Linked DNA regions of Homo sapiens: region 2 is linked to region 1. Evidence: promoter capture Hi-C in 16 types of primary human blood cells and fetal thymus (Javierre and others, 2016). All regions are on one chromosome and are shown on one strand. Each heading gives the region's core, a stretch centred on a gene start or on the middle of the fragment in contact. The rest is flanking DNA. Distances are from core to core; before and after follow the strand shown.

Region 1 (6,961 bases), core at 2,356-4,855:
ACATGGAGAAGCAAGATTGAAGCCTCCACAAATATTACGTGAGCATGGCAGAGGAAAAGGCCCGTTATGTGCCCTTTGGGGAAAAGGTCTCTGGGCTAGGCTTTCCAGGGACCTGAATCCATAAGGTTCACAAGAGAGCAATTTCTGAGCTACCAAGAGGAATGGGGCGGACCTGGGGGGTGGGCAGGGCAGGCGCCTGGGTAGCCTTCGCAGGGTATCTGCAGCCATTCGGCCCCATCCTCTTCCCCCGTAGCCCCAAGTCTCATACTTCCCTGCCTGCTTCTTCCCAGGAAATCTCCGCCCCGCCAGGAGAAGGCCCCCTCCTCACTGGTGGAGGCACTGGAGGCGAGGGTGGGGGCGCTGGAGGGAATCTGAAGGGCCCGGAAAACTCTGGCGGATTTTTTCCCTCCGGAGACCCTCCTCAACACCTCTCCCTGTAGGCCCACTCAGGTTTCTCTGGCCAGGCTTGGAGAGAGAAGGCCAGGGTTGATAAATGGTTAGGGTCCGGCTGCGCTCCTCACCCGCCTCTTCACCCGTTTGAGGAGAGAAAAGTAAGGAACCAGCCCGGCTGGAGCTGTAATGAAGAAGGAATTTTGTCCCGGCCACGTCAGGAGTACCAGAGCAGGCGAGAGCTCAGTTTCCAGGCTTTCTCTCTCGAGATGTCCTTGAATCGCTCAATCCCTGCCGACAGGGCTCCAGTCCCGCGGTCTTCTCTTTCCCTCCGCTCTCCGCCTCCGCTACGTTTCGCAACAGCCAGCTTGGCGCGGGCCTGGGGCTTGCTCTCACGGCGCCCCCCGCCTCCAACTCCCGGGAGTGGGTGGAGGAGACCCTGGTGCCTGGATAGTGCTTCTTTACTGGTCTTTCGGGGCGCCTCAGGGTTCGGACGCCGAGGACACCGGCTGCCACAGGCAGGAAGAAAGGCCTGCGTGGGGTTGGTGCCCAAACCGACTGATCCCAGCTCCCCCCGCAACAAAATCCTACGCGGCTTTTTCCCGCAGGGTGTGTGTGTTGCTCCGCGCAGGGAGCCCAGAGAGGCCTCCCAGCCCCTCAGTGCGATCGCGAGAACGAACAGAAGGCCGGGGCCGGGCGCCTGGGCTCCGGGGAAGGCGAGTGCAGAGGGCTGGGGGCTTGCAGGGGGCCGGCAGGCGCGGGAGCGCTTGGAGCCTGCTCCAGCTCTCACCCTGAGGCCGGCGGGCGAGCGAATTAACAGAATTCCCGGTATAAAGTTTTAAAAATAATATCAGTTTTATTAAATATTCGAGAACGGACCCAGAGGTTGGATTTATACAGGAGGGTAACACGAAGGGATTTATTTATTTATTTATTTTCTCCTACTGGCTAAACAAACGTCATTCACTTTTTTTCTCTCTTTTTGTAATTTTCCCTCTTTTTTTTCCTTTTTTGAAATTGGATAGGAACACTGACGGTGCTAAACATAAATATAAATACAGAGACCACAAATACAGCTAAAAATCTTCACACAGAAACGGTCACAGTTTGTAAAATGCCATAATGACCCCCAGGATTCTTTAAATACAATTTGCCTGGGCTGGGCATTTGCTGGGGCAGAGGGGCTAGGCAGGGACTGCGGGGAGGCCCTGGGGGTTGGTGTGGGGCCAAGGCGCGCCCTCCTTGGGCCTCCGGCCCTCCCCGGCTGCCAGGCCGGGCCCTGAGGCCCTGGAGCAGAGGCCCCAGCAGGCCCAGGAGCCGGCTCTCTGCACGGGGGGCGGGGGTGGGGGCGTCGAAGGAGTGGGGGAGCCAAGTCCTCACTTGGAGGGCAATCTGTAGAGTCTGAGTTCAGGGTCCGAGCCCCCAAGGCCTGGACGGGGAAAAGGGCCTGTAGACAAGCCGAGAACGAGCTAGCAAGGGAGCGAGGAGGAGGAGGCGCGTGGTGAAAGAGAGTTGTGCGGTGAGGGAGGGGGTCCAGAGCTGACTTTCAGGTCCACGTTTGACTCCCTAATTTTGTTTTAGGGAATCAAAACACATCAATTGTGCCAGTGATAAATACAGAGTGTGTGATTAGGGGAGAGTTGGTGGGGAGCGAGGGAGAAAGGGAGAGAGGGGTGGCAGGGACAGTCCTGGTCACTCTTTCTGCTTCTCCTCTTCTGTCTCTTCCCGCTTTTCCTCTTTTCCGCCCAGGCTGTCGGCGGTGGCCCCTCCGCCGCCCCCCGAGAGAGTGGATGTGAGATTAGATTCTTTTTTCCACTTCATCCGGCGGTTCTGGAACCAGATTTTGATCTGTCGCTCGGTCAGGCAAAGCGCGTTGGCGATCTCGATGCGCCGGCGCCGCGTTAGGTAGCGATTGAAGTGAAATTCCTTCTCCAGTTCCAGGGTCTGGTACCGCGAGTAGATCTGGCGGCCGCGCCTCCGGTCCGCTCCGTAGCCGACCCCTAAAGATCCGGGCACAAAACACACTAAAAGCAATCAGCAAAGCGTCCTCTGCAGACTGTTTCGCCTAGCAAAGTCCTGACCCTCCCAACCTGGCCAGCAGCTCACAGCCTCCTTAGGGCTCTAGCCTTCTCCCTTTTGCCTTGCCCCACCCCCACTGGGGGTACAGCGAGGACCCCAACTTCAGACCTCCTATAAGGTGGGACCTGTGTGTCCCAAAGAAAGGTGTGTGGTGGGGGGGGGGGCGGGGGGGCGGGGCAAAAGGCAAACAGAAAGCTGCAAGTCTAAAAGCAGATTTTTGAAAAATCCCAGATAATGGGGATGAGGGCCCCCTTTCTCAAGGACTGGGCTCCCCCATCTCCCCAAGCATCCTAGTTCCTTGGAAACTTCTCCCCACTTATCTGCCTCTCCTCTCCCCCTCCCTTCTCCTCAGACTGACTCCACTTTGGGGGGCTCCCCTATCTTCTGCTCCCTCCCCTCATCCCCTGCCCTGTTCCTGCCCCCTCAGCCCGCCTTGGGGCCCTCCAATCCGTCAGGGGCCAAGGGGGCCAGGCCCCTGCAAGCGAGCGAGAGGCGAGCTGAGGGGGCAGAAGAGGGGGCCCTGTCTCGGTGAGGAGACGAGCGTGATTGTTTTTATGGGGCCATAAAAAACTCTCTCCGCCCGTTCTTCTAGGGAAGCCGGTCATAAAGCCAGTTCAGTTTATTTAATTTATATCTCGGAGCTGTAAAACTCACCACTGTGCGAATTCATTCGCTGCATCCAGGGGTAAATCTGGATACTGGCTTTCTGGTCCTGGGGCGCAGTCCTGCCCTGCTCAGAACTAAAATCCTGAGCGATTGAGGTCTGTGTGTTATGTCCTAAGGTGTTTTGTCTGCAGTTTGAGAGCATGTCTTTCTCCTGGTAAAAGGAATTAGATCCATAGTCATACGGCCCCCGGCTGGAACTGAACACGACATTCTCCTGTGGCGAATAAAAGGGAGTCGAGTAGATCCGGTTCTGGGCAACGGCCGCTCCATAGGTCGAGAAATGCCTCACTGGATCATAGGCGGTGGAATTGAGGGCGACGTTGGGGAGGACGTCCTGGCCCCCGGCGAGGTGGCAGGATAAGGAAGGGTTAGTGAAGTAGGAATTCATCCCTTTGCCTTTACCTGGTCGGTCTATGATTTCTTTAATATTTATTTCTGTCTCCAGTTTGTACTCGGAACTAGATGGTTATAGGGACGGCTCCAATCCAGGACAGACAAAATGACAAAGTCAGCTGACCCCCTCCCAGCCAATCGCAAGCCAGATGTCAGGAAGGGGGAAAAAAATCGCTTCTGCTTCTGTTGATTCCCTAGTTGAGACTAAGTGTGTGCTTTGAAAGTAAGACTTGGATTTCTTTTAAAAAATATATATATATATATATATATGTAAGGGAACTGGTTTGGTGGTGAAGGAGGGGTGCATGTCCCTGAGCAGGGCCTTGGGACTCAGGGAAGGAGAGCTGTACTACCAGGAAATCTCTCAGCCCCAGCTAACTTTGCTGTGCTGTGGCCAGAGCCAGGGCTAGAGAAACCCCTGTATTTTCAATCTGGTTTCATGTTTTATATCTGCCCCCTTCTAAAATTACATCCTGATTTCTCCAAGGGAAGAACTCCCTCCCAGCACAGGAGGGGGGTCCCTAGAAATCCTGCAGGAAATCCTGTTTTGACACTCCATGGAGTGAGTCCCATCACTAAACTAGTATTTTTTTCACCAATAATTAAAAAAAAATCAAAAGTAGAAAGAAATTTCATAAAACCTGTTCCCCTGAGTAAGTAGAGTGTGGCTGAGAGTCTTGAATGTAGTAGGGATGTGGGGAACAACTAGGTCTAAAGGGGCAAGACTTCAGGGTACAGTGGCAGAGCTGGAGTGGGCAAATGGGCCACGCATCTGCTCTCCTTTGCCTCCTGGCTCCCTTCTGCCTCCTTCTCAGGACCCCTCTGTTGGGAAAACTCTTCCAGCATTTTTGCCTAAAAGGGAAAATGTATAAAAAATGCAATAGAAAAAGGAGAAAAAGAAGTAAAATGTAGGGAGGTGGCACCGGAGGGGGAAAGACAGAGAGAAAGAGAGAGAGAGGAAGAACGAAAACTCTGAGAATCTTTCTAGAGACATCAACTCCTGTTTATGTTGGTGAGAATTTATTATTTGGAGCCAGTGAGGGCCTGTGGGGTAATTCACATAGGATCCAGCCAGAAAGAGAAGGCTGGTGGGGCTCTGATGGACAGTTAGCTTCCTGCAGGCTCAAGCCCCTGCCTTGGTCAGAAGCCCCCCTGCCCCCTCCAGACTCAGGGCACCGCCAGTGGAGGCGCCCCTGGACCTGAGCTATGAGGCTTGGAGACTTCAGAAAGGGGTTCTAAGGAGCTCTCACCCAAGTGCCAGTCACCCGTGGTGGGGATGGGCCTCTCAGCAACCTCAACGCCCATTTTATTCCCCCATCTTGGGGCTAAAAAAAGGGAAGAGACGGTTACGAAAAGGCAGCTGAATCCGAGGCTTGTGAGGGAGCCGCAGTAGGCGAACTGAAACAGCGGAAAGTGTGCAGATGGGGGTTTTCTCCTGATTAGTCCAAACTTAATTTGATATCGTGATATAGGCTGAAAATGCCTTGAGTTGACAAAGAAGGGTGGTGGGGAGTGTGCGGGGAGCAGAGAAAGCTCATATCCCCCCCCCCCCACCATTTTTGGGTGGGTTGGGGGGGGGGAAAGCTGGCTATAACAAGAACCCGGATGTCGCCGGATTTTATGATCTTTTCCTTCTGTGTAACAAAGCGGAGTAATCAATGGGTAGCAATAAAGCCATAAACGGGACTATGCTGAGAAAAAACTCGTTTATTCATCTTCTGTAACGTTAAGGTTTCCCTGGAGTGTCGCTAGGGGGGAAAAATAAAGTTTCGAACCCAAAAGCAGACAGTGTGCAGGAGCTGGTGGAGACAACATGTTAGTTAATACATGAACCTCGTTAGGGGGTTGAAGAGTCTTCCTGCCAGACAATTTGTGTTGGTTTTAGAAAATACAGCCCCAATCCTCCAGAAAGGACAGAAATTTGTCGGTATTTGGAAGGGAAGGGGAAAGACTCCTATAATTATAAAGGTTCCTCCTTCTAGATCACACTTTCTTCTCCCCAAGGAAATGAAGGGGAAAGGGTAGAGGAGGATTTTTAAATTAAGAAAAAAAATTTTAGATGAGTTATCTCATTTTTGGGGTGACTTGGCAGGTACACAAACATAGACACCAATGTGAGTTGCTTTTTGCCCTAGAATCCAGCTGTCCTCGAATTCATGGCATGCCTGAGCAGAGGTTTCCAACAGCTGGCTGAGGCTTCAGGCCCCCTGGAGGGCAAGAGGTGGGGGAGAGACAACAAGGCAGGAGTACTCTGGGGACTGAGCTAGGGAACAAGTCAGTGCACCCCTGGACACAAGTAGCCTCTCTCAGAGTTCCCAGCCTCCTTTCTGCCCTAAGGGTAGTGGTGTAACAAGTAGAAGAGGCCGGAAGAGAGAGTAACTCTGTCCCCCCCTCCAATTTCAGAGAGAGATTGCTAGAGGGATAAATCATGTCAGTGATATTTCCTTCAAGATATTAAATTGTTGCAATGTACAACAAATTGAATGATGGAAGATAGGATGTCTTAATGAGGTTTCACTTTCAATGAGTGTTGATTTTCTATGTATTTAAAAATCTCTTTTATGTCTGGGTGGGGGAGGGAAGGACCTTGGAAGAAAGAAGGGGCTTCTGGGGCAGCATGGACTACAGCCCCCAGCAAGGATGCCTAGGTTTCCTTGAGCCCCTCCTCAACCATGTCTGGAGAGGAAAGGGGCCCCAAAGTTGGGGAGATTCTCTATTGGGGCCTAAAGTCGGTGGGCTCAGGGAGGTTGGCGACCTGAGAGGCAGAATGTGAGCCTCAGCCCCAGAAAGTTAAGTGTTTTATGACGTCCCTAAACAGAGGGCAGAGACTGAAAGGTCTCGCCGATTTATAATGAACAGAAACCAGCTGCTGGGTGAAAAAGGCAGAAATGCTGGAAGGGGGAGAGAAGGGGAAACAGAAATACAAATAAATTCCTCCACTGCTTAAAGACCTTTGGCAAAATTAATTTTCAACACCTCCCCCCCCCCCAATTACCTTTCATTCCTGAGGAAAGAAGAAGCCCTCTTCTTTCTCTTAGATCTTTAATTATGCAGCTGAAATTTGCTGAAAGGATTCGCTCCAAGGGGGGAGAGCAGGTCAGATGAGCCCGATCTTCCCTACATTGGATTATATTTTCTTTTTCCCATTTCATGTTAATTTTATTTTTTTGGCAAAAGAATGGCTGTCTATAGGGGGAAAGCTGGGACTTAGATTTTTCTAAATATATTTATATTTTCCTGTTAAATTTGTCTGAAAACAATTATGGAAACTCATCAGCAGAAGCAAGAACAGATGTTTTATTAAAACTGCAGTTGTGCTCTGTAAATATGCACAAGTCTTGGGAAGGAGGGGAGAGAACTTGTTCTTTGTTTCTATAAAACGAGCCTAAAGAAATCAGAGAACACTACCCCCCAACCCCATCAGGCTTGCAGG
Region 2 (6,961 bases), core at 2,880-5,379, 100 kb after region 1:
TGTAATAACTTCAAAATCTACCTTGGTTACAAATACCTAGGACAGTAAGGAACATCCCCACCCGCCGCACCTCCCTCTCCAACATTTCTTCAACCTTTACTTGGTAGCTTCAGCATCAAGTATCAAAATCTGTGGGGGAGAGTACTCTTTCTCCATGTCGAAAGGCACCTCTTCTTGCACTCCCTGACCTAGCCAGCTCTAACCTGCGGGCTTATTCTGGGGGAGCTTCAGAGGAAAAGCCGGGGATGAGGGTCTTAATCTCGCTCTAGATCTTTACTTGCAGAGAGATGAGTTACATTGTTTAATTTTCTTCTCTACCTGGGCCGTTCAAAGAGCTCAGGAATATTGTCTTGTCTAATTCCCCGGAGGCTTCGTATTCTGCCCCTGCAAACTGACGACCTCCTCCAGCAGAAATCAGGCGGAGGGAATGGCAGGAGCTGCGTGGGGGAGTTCTTGGCGGAGGACTTGTCTTCTCCTTCCCACCCCACAGCTGCGTAGGCTCGACTGGCGCGTGGGGGCTCCCGACTTGGAGGGGTGTGGGCAGTGGTATTCAGGGCTTTTTCTCCGTCCCGCCCTGCAGGGATCTGGAGTCCAGTGCCTCCAGGAAACCTTCCCTAGGTTTCAGGGGGCGGGGAGAGCATGCCAGTCTGGGAGGCAGCCCCAGACGGTTTGCACAGTCCAGAGACGGAAGTCCCCACGCTCCCAGCCTGGGACGGGGAGACCCTTATTTTCTCAACTTGAACCAAACGAAATCGGCAGCAGTCACGAACCTCAGCTCCCAGACCGGGTGGCGCCTGCCTGTCCACGTCTTTGTTTTTTTTTTTTTTGTTTGTTTGTTTTTTTTTTTTTTTGAAGGGGATACATTTAAAGGAAAAAAAAATCAATCCGAGAGAAACTTACACTTTCAAACATTCACAGCGGAACTTGTATGTGTTGGCGCCGCACTAGGGCCAGGCATCCGCCCAGCGCTCCCCGCCTTCCCCAGGAGTTGGGTCCCGCACCAACGTCTCTACTCGAAGCCGCGGCAAGTCACTTTCCCCAGTCGCCCTCCCGAGACCTACCGCCCCCAAAAGCCATTTTTCAAGAGGCGCAGGCCCCTCTCCAGGCTTCTCCGGAGGCCAAAGCAGCGGGCGGGCGGGCGGTGGCTAGGGGACGCGGCCCGGCCAGCTGAGCCCGCTCGTTTCCCGCCACTGTGCGCAGCTCGGGTCCCCCAGATCTTCGAAGCCCTCGGACCTGGCTTTCGCGCAGACTGGAGAGAAGGAACGGCGAGAGTGAATTGAGGGGTTACCGACTCCCGCATCCTCCAAAGACCGCACTTTGCATCGTTGTAACGCTCGAGCTGCACACGCCAAAGGCGATTTTAGGGGTCCTTCTCCATCATGGCATTGGAACGACAGGGCAGAAATTTCAACTTAAGTGTCTACACTGAAGTGTTATGTCTTCTCCAAGTCCTTTTCATTTACTTAGGAAGCCTTGGTTGTGTTCTGCTTTGGAATCTGAGGGACCTTCCCCTCTCTCCTGTTTTGTTTTTCCAGCATGCGGTCCAGCTGGTCTCAAGAAATGGGGCAGGGGAAGGGTGCATAAAATAAAACTCCAGTGAAACTAGAAGAACAGAAAAATGCTCACTGCACACAGACATGGATAAAGTAGTGAGTGTGGCTGTAGAACGGTACCTCTGGGGGAGAATGGAGACGCCCTTTTAGTTTAAATAGCGACCTAGAGGCCGGGAATATAGTTAACAGGGGGAATTGTGTTGCCAGAATCTTTGCTTTCCTTGATGGGTCCTGCAAAGCTCTTCGCTCCCCACCCCGAGTGAGAATCCAAGGGCGGCGGGTGTTTTTTAATGATTATTAGAAATAGTCAAACTCTTCTTGTAATGACCTCATTCTTGCCAGATGTGTCTTCTGATCTCACCAGAATGCGGCACTTTAAAAAATTGAATCCAGTTTTGGAATTAATAAGATGTGAAATATGTTTATTTTATTTGGGGTTGAAGGGCCAGGCAATTCTTCTGCCTTCATGGATTTTACTGGCTTCTGTGTCCAGTGGCACATTTTACCAGATTGTTTTCAGTAGCTCGGATATTTTAGGGTCGTGTTCACTTTCAGGCTCTCTGAGACCTAGGAGTTTCAGGTGCATATTCATTACACAAGGGATGAGAAGTTCCATTGGGGGAAGGAACAAATCTCCTGCGAGTAGGTCTCAGTAGTCAAGCTACAGGAGCCTTCCTTATCTTCAAGAGGCAGCTGAGCATGGCTACCTTTGCTCTGCTCTTTCACAGAAATCCTTTTCTCTCCCAGTCCCTTTTTTTCTCCCCGCCATCCATCAACCTGCACCATTCAGAGAAAAGTCCCTTTGGGGAGTGATGACCTTCCTTTTGGAGAAAGAAATACTCTCATAAGATTGCTGCCTATGATGGTTGAACGTCTGGTACCCCATGAGGATCTTCTATATCCAAATTTGCCACTGGACACAGAAGCCAGTAAAATTTCAACCATTATAAAGATATAGCAACTGCTCCCTCCAAATCCTGGGCCTGCAGCTGGACTACACCCCCAGCATTTTTTGCAGTTTCATATGGATGTGTGACTTAGTTCTAATTAATGGAATGCATGTGCCGTTTCCTGGCCAAAGCTTTTAACAAGTGGGTGTGTTCCCATTCTCCTCCGTGCTCTCTGTCTTCTTCCTCTGTGAGGATGTCCACCATGGCACCCTAGGGAATAGTTCAGACACGCGATAGGAAGAGCCTGGATCCCTGAACCACATGGAGAGGGCAGCCACCCACTGGCAAGAATCATCTGCCTAGGACTTTACCTGAGGAAGGAATAAGTTTCTATTGTATTTAAGTGACTATATGTTTTGGGGTTTATTTACAATCATATCCCAGTCCATCCTTTACTCTTTAAAAGGCGAAATACAATTTCATTTTTGTGTTCTGTCACCCTTTATCAATGTCAATGGATGTTAGCTAACACTTCTTGGCTCTTGGATTAAAACTCCAGGGGGCCCCAGACTCTTCTGCCTGCTCTTAGGTAATAGACAATCCTGTAACAACTTCAAGTCATATACACAATTTCAAATCTTAGGGAGAATGTCCAGTGCAATGTAGCTTCAAGACTCTGAGCTCGGTTTAATGTGATATTTTCTTCCTTCCCTCACTCAAGTTTGCTTTAGCCTAGATGTGTGTAGAAGGAACGAGGGGTAATTTTTTAACCTTGTGTTTCTCTTCTTCCCCCGCACCCCCCGCCCGACCCTTATCTGTTGTTTCAGGCTCACTAGGGTTTCAAGGGATGAAGAGAGTGAAGGATTGGCTCAAACAGTTTTCTAATGGTTTGAATTGTAGAGATAAGCCAACTAGATCAGGGCTACTATAGTTGAAACTGCATAGCACCAAATAAAGCAGAGTTTTGGCAACTCACTACCAAAACCGTAGATTTCCTGAATTGTTCAGTTTGATATATTTCCAGATCTAAGGAAAGAACCACCATTCATTTCACTAGATTGTATGGTAATAGCTCCAGTTGGTCCCTTGGAAAAACAGCTGGCACAAAAGCATTTTTTTCCAGAGGTGATGAGAATACATTCTTTTGCATTGGTTCACCCAAATTTCTCCCTCCTAGTCCCTGGATATGTAGGCCAGACCCAGTCACAGGAGATGAGGAAATGAGTTCCTGCTTTTTTGGCCCCTGCCAACAACAAGAACTGGGCAGCCTCCTTCTTGCAGTTTTGTTTTGCATTCTGCTTATTCTCTTATGGAAATCACAGCAGCTGCCTTATAGTTAGGCAGTCTGCCAGCCTCTCTGGCACTTTTGAGACATTGGCATCTCTCTTTATAATGAATGCCAAGCCACTCAGACCAGCGTTGGGTCACCAGGTGGGGAGAAAGCCTGTCAGATATAGCATGCCAAGTGAAAAAAAGAAGTGTTAATGATGCAGTTAACTTTGTCTATGGACATTGCTTGACTATGATATTTTAGGACTGCCTACATGCTGACAAAGGAAAACTTCAGTCCTTCATTGGATTATTTCCAAATATCCAAATATATGTTAACAAGTGGATGGATTAGCCAGATAACATTTTTCTCTTGCTTACAGCCGGTTGCTTGGCATTACACAGACCCTTATTATGTGTGGACACCATTGAGTGGCACCAGCACTCTCTCAGCCTGGGCTGGGGGAAGAGCCATAGAGTGGGATGTGGGCAAATAAAAAACATTTAAATCTAAGGGTAAGACTAATCCAGACTTGGAAACCTACTTACCACTGTGAGCCAGGGAGGATTTTGGATGTTCATGGTTAACAGTTAAGTCAGTCTGGAAATTACTCTGGTCTTTGGAAAGAATGTAGATTGTGTTGAAGATTGAATTATCCATCATGGATGACCACTTGGTCATGGATGACCGCTTTCTCTGGATTATTTCTAATCTAATTTTCTTTTTCAAGTATATAGTGGGTTATATTCATCATCATCAACTTTCTGGCAACAACAGAAGTGGAAAGGGCCTGGCATTCAAAGGTGAGGTTGTGGGTCCCTATAATGAAACACTCTGATGGTGGGAATAGCTAGATAATGGAGTGGGATTTAAGAGTGAGACATCCATTTCCCTTGTGTAGCACTTTGAAACTAGTCTTTTCTAATTTACCTGAGCAGAAACTAGACTGGAAACAGGGGCATATCCAAGATGACCTCTCAAGGCCTCTTTTTTTTGCCTTTGGCTTCTGTAATTTTCTGACAACAGCTGTACCTGTAAAATGTGTTCGGATTCAGTAGCAGGGTCAGGGGCTGCTGTCACTTGGTGGATTTCAACAACATGACCCTGGCAAAGACTTTGGAATAAAAACATCAGGAAAATAAACACTCAATGCTCCATAGCCAGAGGACCAGCTGGGAGCTGTCAGGTTGAAATACTAGTCTATCTGGGAAGGGAAGGAAAAGGAGCAAGGCCTCCGACACTCTTCTGCCTCCTAGAAAATACCCCTCCAGCAGCAGAGGTGATGCCAAACACATCAAATTAATCAAGAAAAGAGATGGAAGAAGTATTAAGGCTGAGCTTCAACTCCAGCCAGTCTGTCAGTCAACACTCTGTCAGGAACAAGGCATTGCCTGGGCTGTGGGAGGGGAGCACCAGGAAACAAGAGACAAAGCCAGTTGCTGAATGTGGGGAGCCACACCCTATCTGTGCAGGGAGATGGAGCATATACTCAGGACCCAGGCAGAAAGAAAGGTGAGAAGATTGAGTGACAAGAGAAATGAGGGACCACAATGCAGGGAGGAGGAGGAGCGGGAGCTGCAGCAGAAGCGAGATGAATCAGACAAGACAGTCATTCCTTCAGAGGGGAGAGACACTTGGGGAGGAGAGCAGAAAAGGGCCCCAAGGGAGAAGTAGGAAAAGACTTGTGTCCCAACTTGGGCAATGGCTTGTGCAGTTTAGAGCCTGGAGAGGACAAGGTATGTGCTGCTGGAGAGAAGGCACTCGTCTGGCTGAGCAGAAATTCTACATTAGGGAGTCAGGGAGAAGAGGCTGGGAAACCGAGGAACTGTAAATCTGGCAGGACAGTATGAACCAAATAGGGATTTCTGGGAAAAGGTGTTTCTTACAAAAATGCTGATAGGAAGAAGCTTTTGTTCTGGCCGCCCTTTAGAAAAGAGGTAAAGTCTAAGCAGATGAGCATGATGCAGTTATCTGTCATCAGCTGTACAGCATAAACAGAAAAAGCAGGCTGCTTCACTTGTTCCAGCTTGAAGTGACAATAATGTCTGCCCAGCTATAGCAGGGGTATGCAAGGAAGATCTAGGGAATGTGTGGCAGCACATGTCTATATATGTCTCCTTGTGTGCAAGTGTGTGTGTGTGTAAGGCTGCTTGCACATGTGTTTTTATGTTCTGATTGGGCTGCATCTGAAGCGCTTTAGAAAAGTATAGAAATGATGTAACAATAAACTAATACATTAAATTAGTAGGCAGACTCATGAGAGGGTCTGAGTAATATACACCCATGGAGGAAAACATAATACAAAGCCTTCTACTCCATATACACATACACACACGCAGATGTTGAATAACATTCATTTGAATATTAGACGTGCACATGTACAAAGACATATTTTAAATATGGAAAAGACACAAATTCTATTGAATAACTGCCATCCATTTCATAGGTATGCTGTAGGAAAGACTAAGAGAAAAGTAGATTTGAAATGGCATTTAAATCATCTTATCTATTCTTTTGTCTATAAGAAAGAATGCCAGCTTACCAACTCCTTCAAGCAACATAATGCCTCGTTTTCTGAAAGAACTATTAACTGGGACTATTTGTCCCAGTCTCTAGCCCCTACTAGTATGTGTACTGTCTAGGAAAGTGCACTGAATCCCACTGGAGTCAAAAGGATTATTAGTCCACATCTGTCTCCTAATGGTAAAATATTCTTCAGTAAGTCATCTGTCTGACTCTGATTCTTCCTCTATTAAGTGTGAAAGTTGTCTATAAAATCTAAAGTTTCTTCTAGCTATAGTCTTAGGATATATATACATACACACACACACACACACACACACACACACACACACACACACACATATGTAAGATCTCTCTCTGTCTCTCTCTTTCACACATATTATCCAAGTGCCCAGAAAATTAGAGGATGACCACAATTGTCTACAAAATGTCCAAACAATGTTTCAGTTCTGTTTTCTAATGACAAAACTCCAAATATGATTTTTGACATTGTAAGGACTAAGGAGTTAATGACAGAAAAGTTTATCTTTCAAAACCTGAGAATGAACAGGTCTGTAGTCACCTGTTTCACACAAATCTTGGAAATCAGTGCTTTGATTATGACACAATGTCACAACAATAAGATGATTTAGTTAAGTCAGTGAAAAAAAATTAAGTACGTTGGCCATTTGACATTGGGTAGTCAAAACATTTTTTTTTTTTTTTTTACATTTTAAGCAGATCCA

Evidence for each region. Contacts are between HindIII fragments. The CHiCAGO score rates a contact against its expected background, and 5 or more counts as called.
Region 2: a fragment that was not itself captured here is called in contact with the fragment with the promoter of HOXC6 in region 1 in 2 of 17 cell types (naive B cells and total B cells); the score reaches 7.7 in naive B cells.

What each region holds. Positions count from the first base shown.
Region 1 is chr12:54,025,084-54,032,044 of GRCh38, reverse strand. It overlaps HOXC6 (homeobox C6), which reads right to left and starts at 3,605. Exons shown (of 2, transcript NM_004503.4): 1 at 3,124-3,605; 2 at 1,222-2,390. The coding sequence starts at 3,523. The coding sequence ends at 2,083. It also overlaps a transcript of HOXC4 not described here and a transcript of HOXC5 not described here. The HindIII fragment of the contact is 15,214 bases long and covers 1-6,961 here.
Region 2 is chr12:53,921,914-53,928,874 of GRCh38, reverse strand. No RefSeq gene overlaps it. Among named protein-coding and RNA genes, the nearest start is that of HOXC13, 13 kb to the left of the region's middle. RefSeq lists an enhancer at 35-872. The HindIII fragment of the contact is 2,986 bases long and covers 2,637-5,622 here.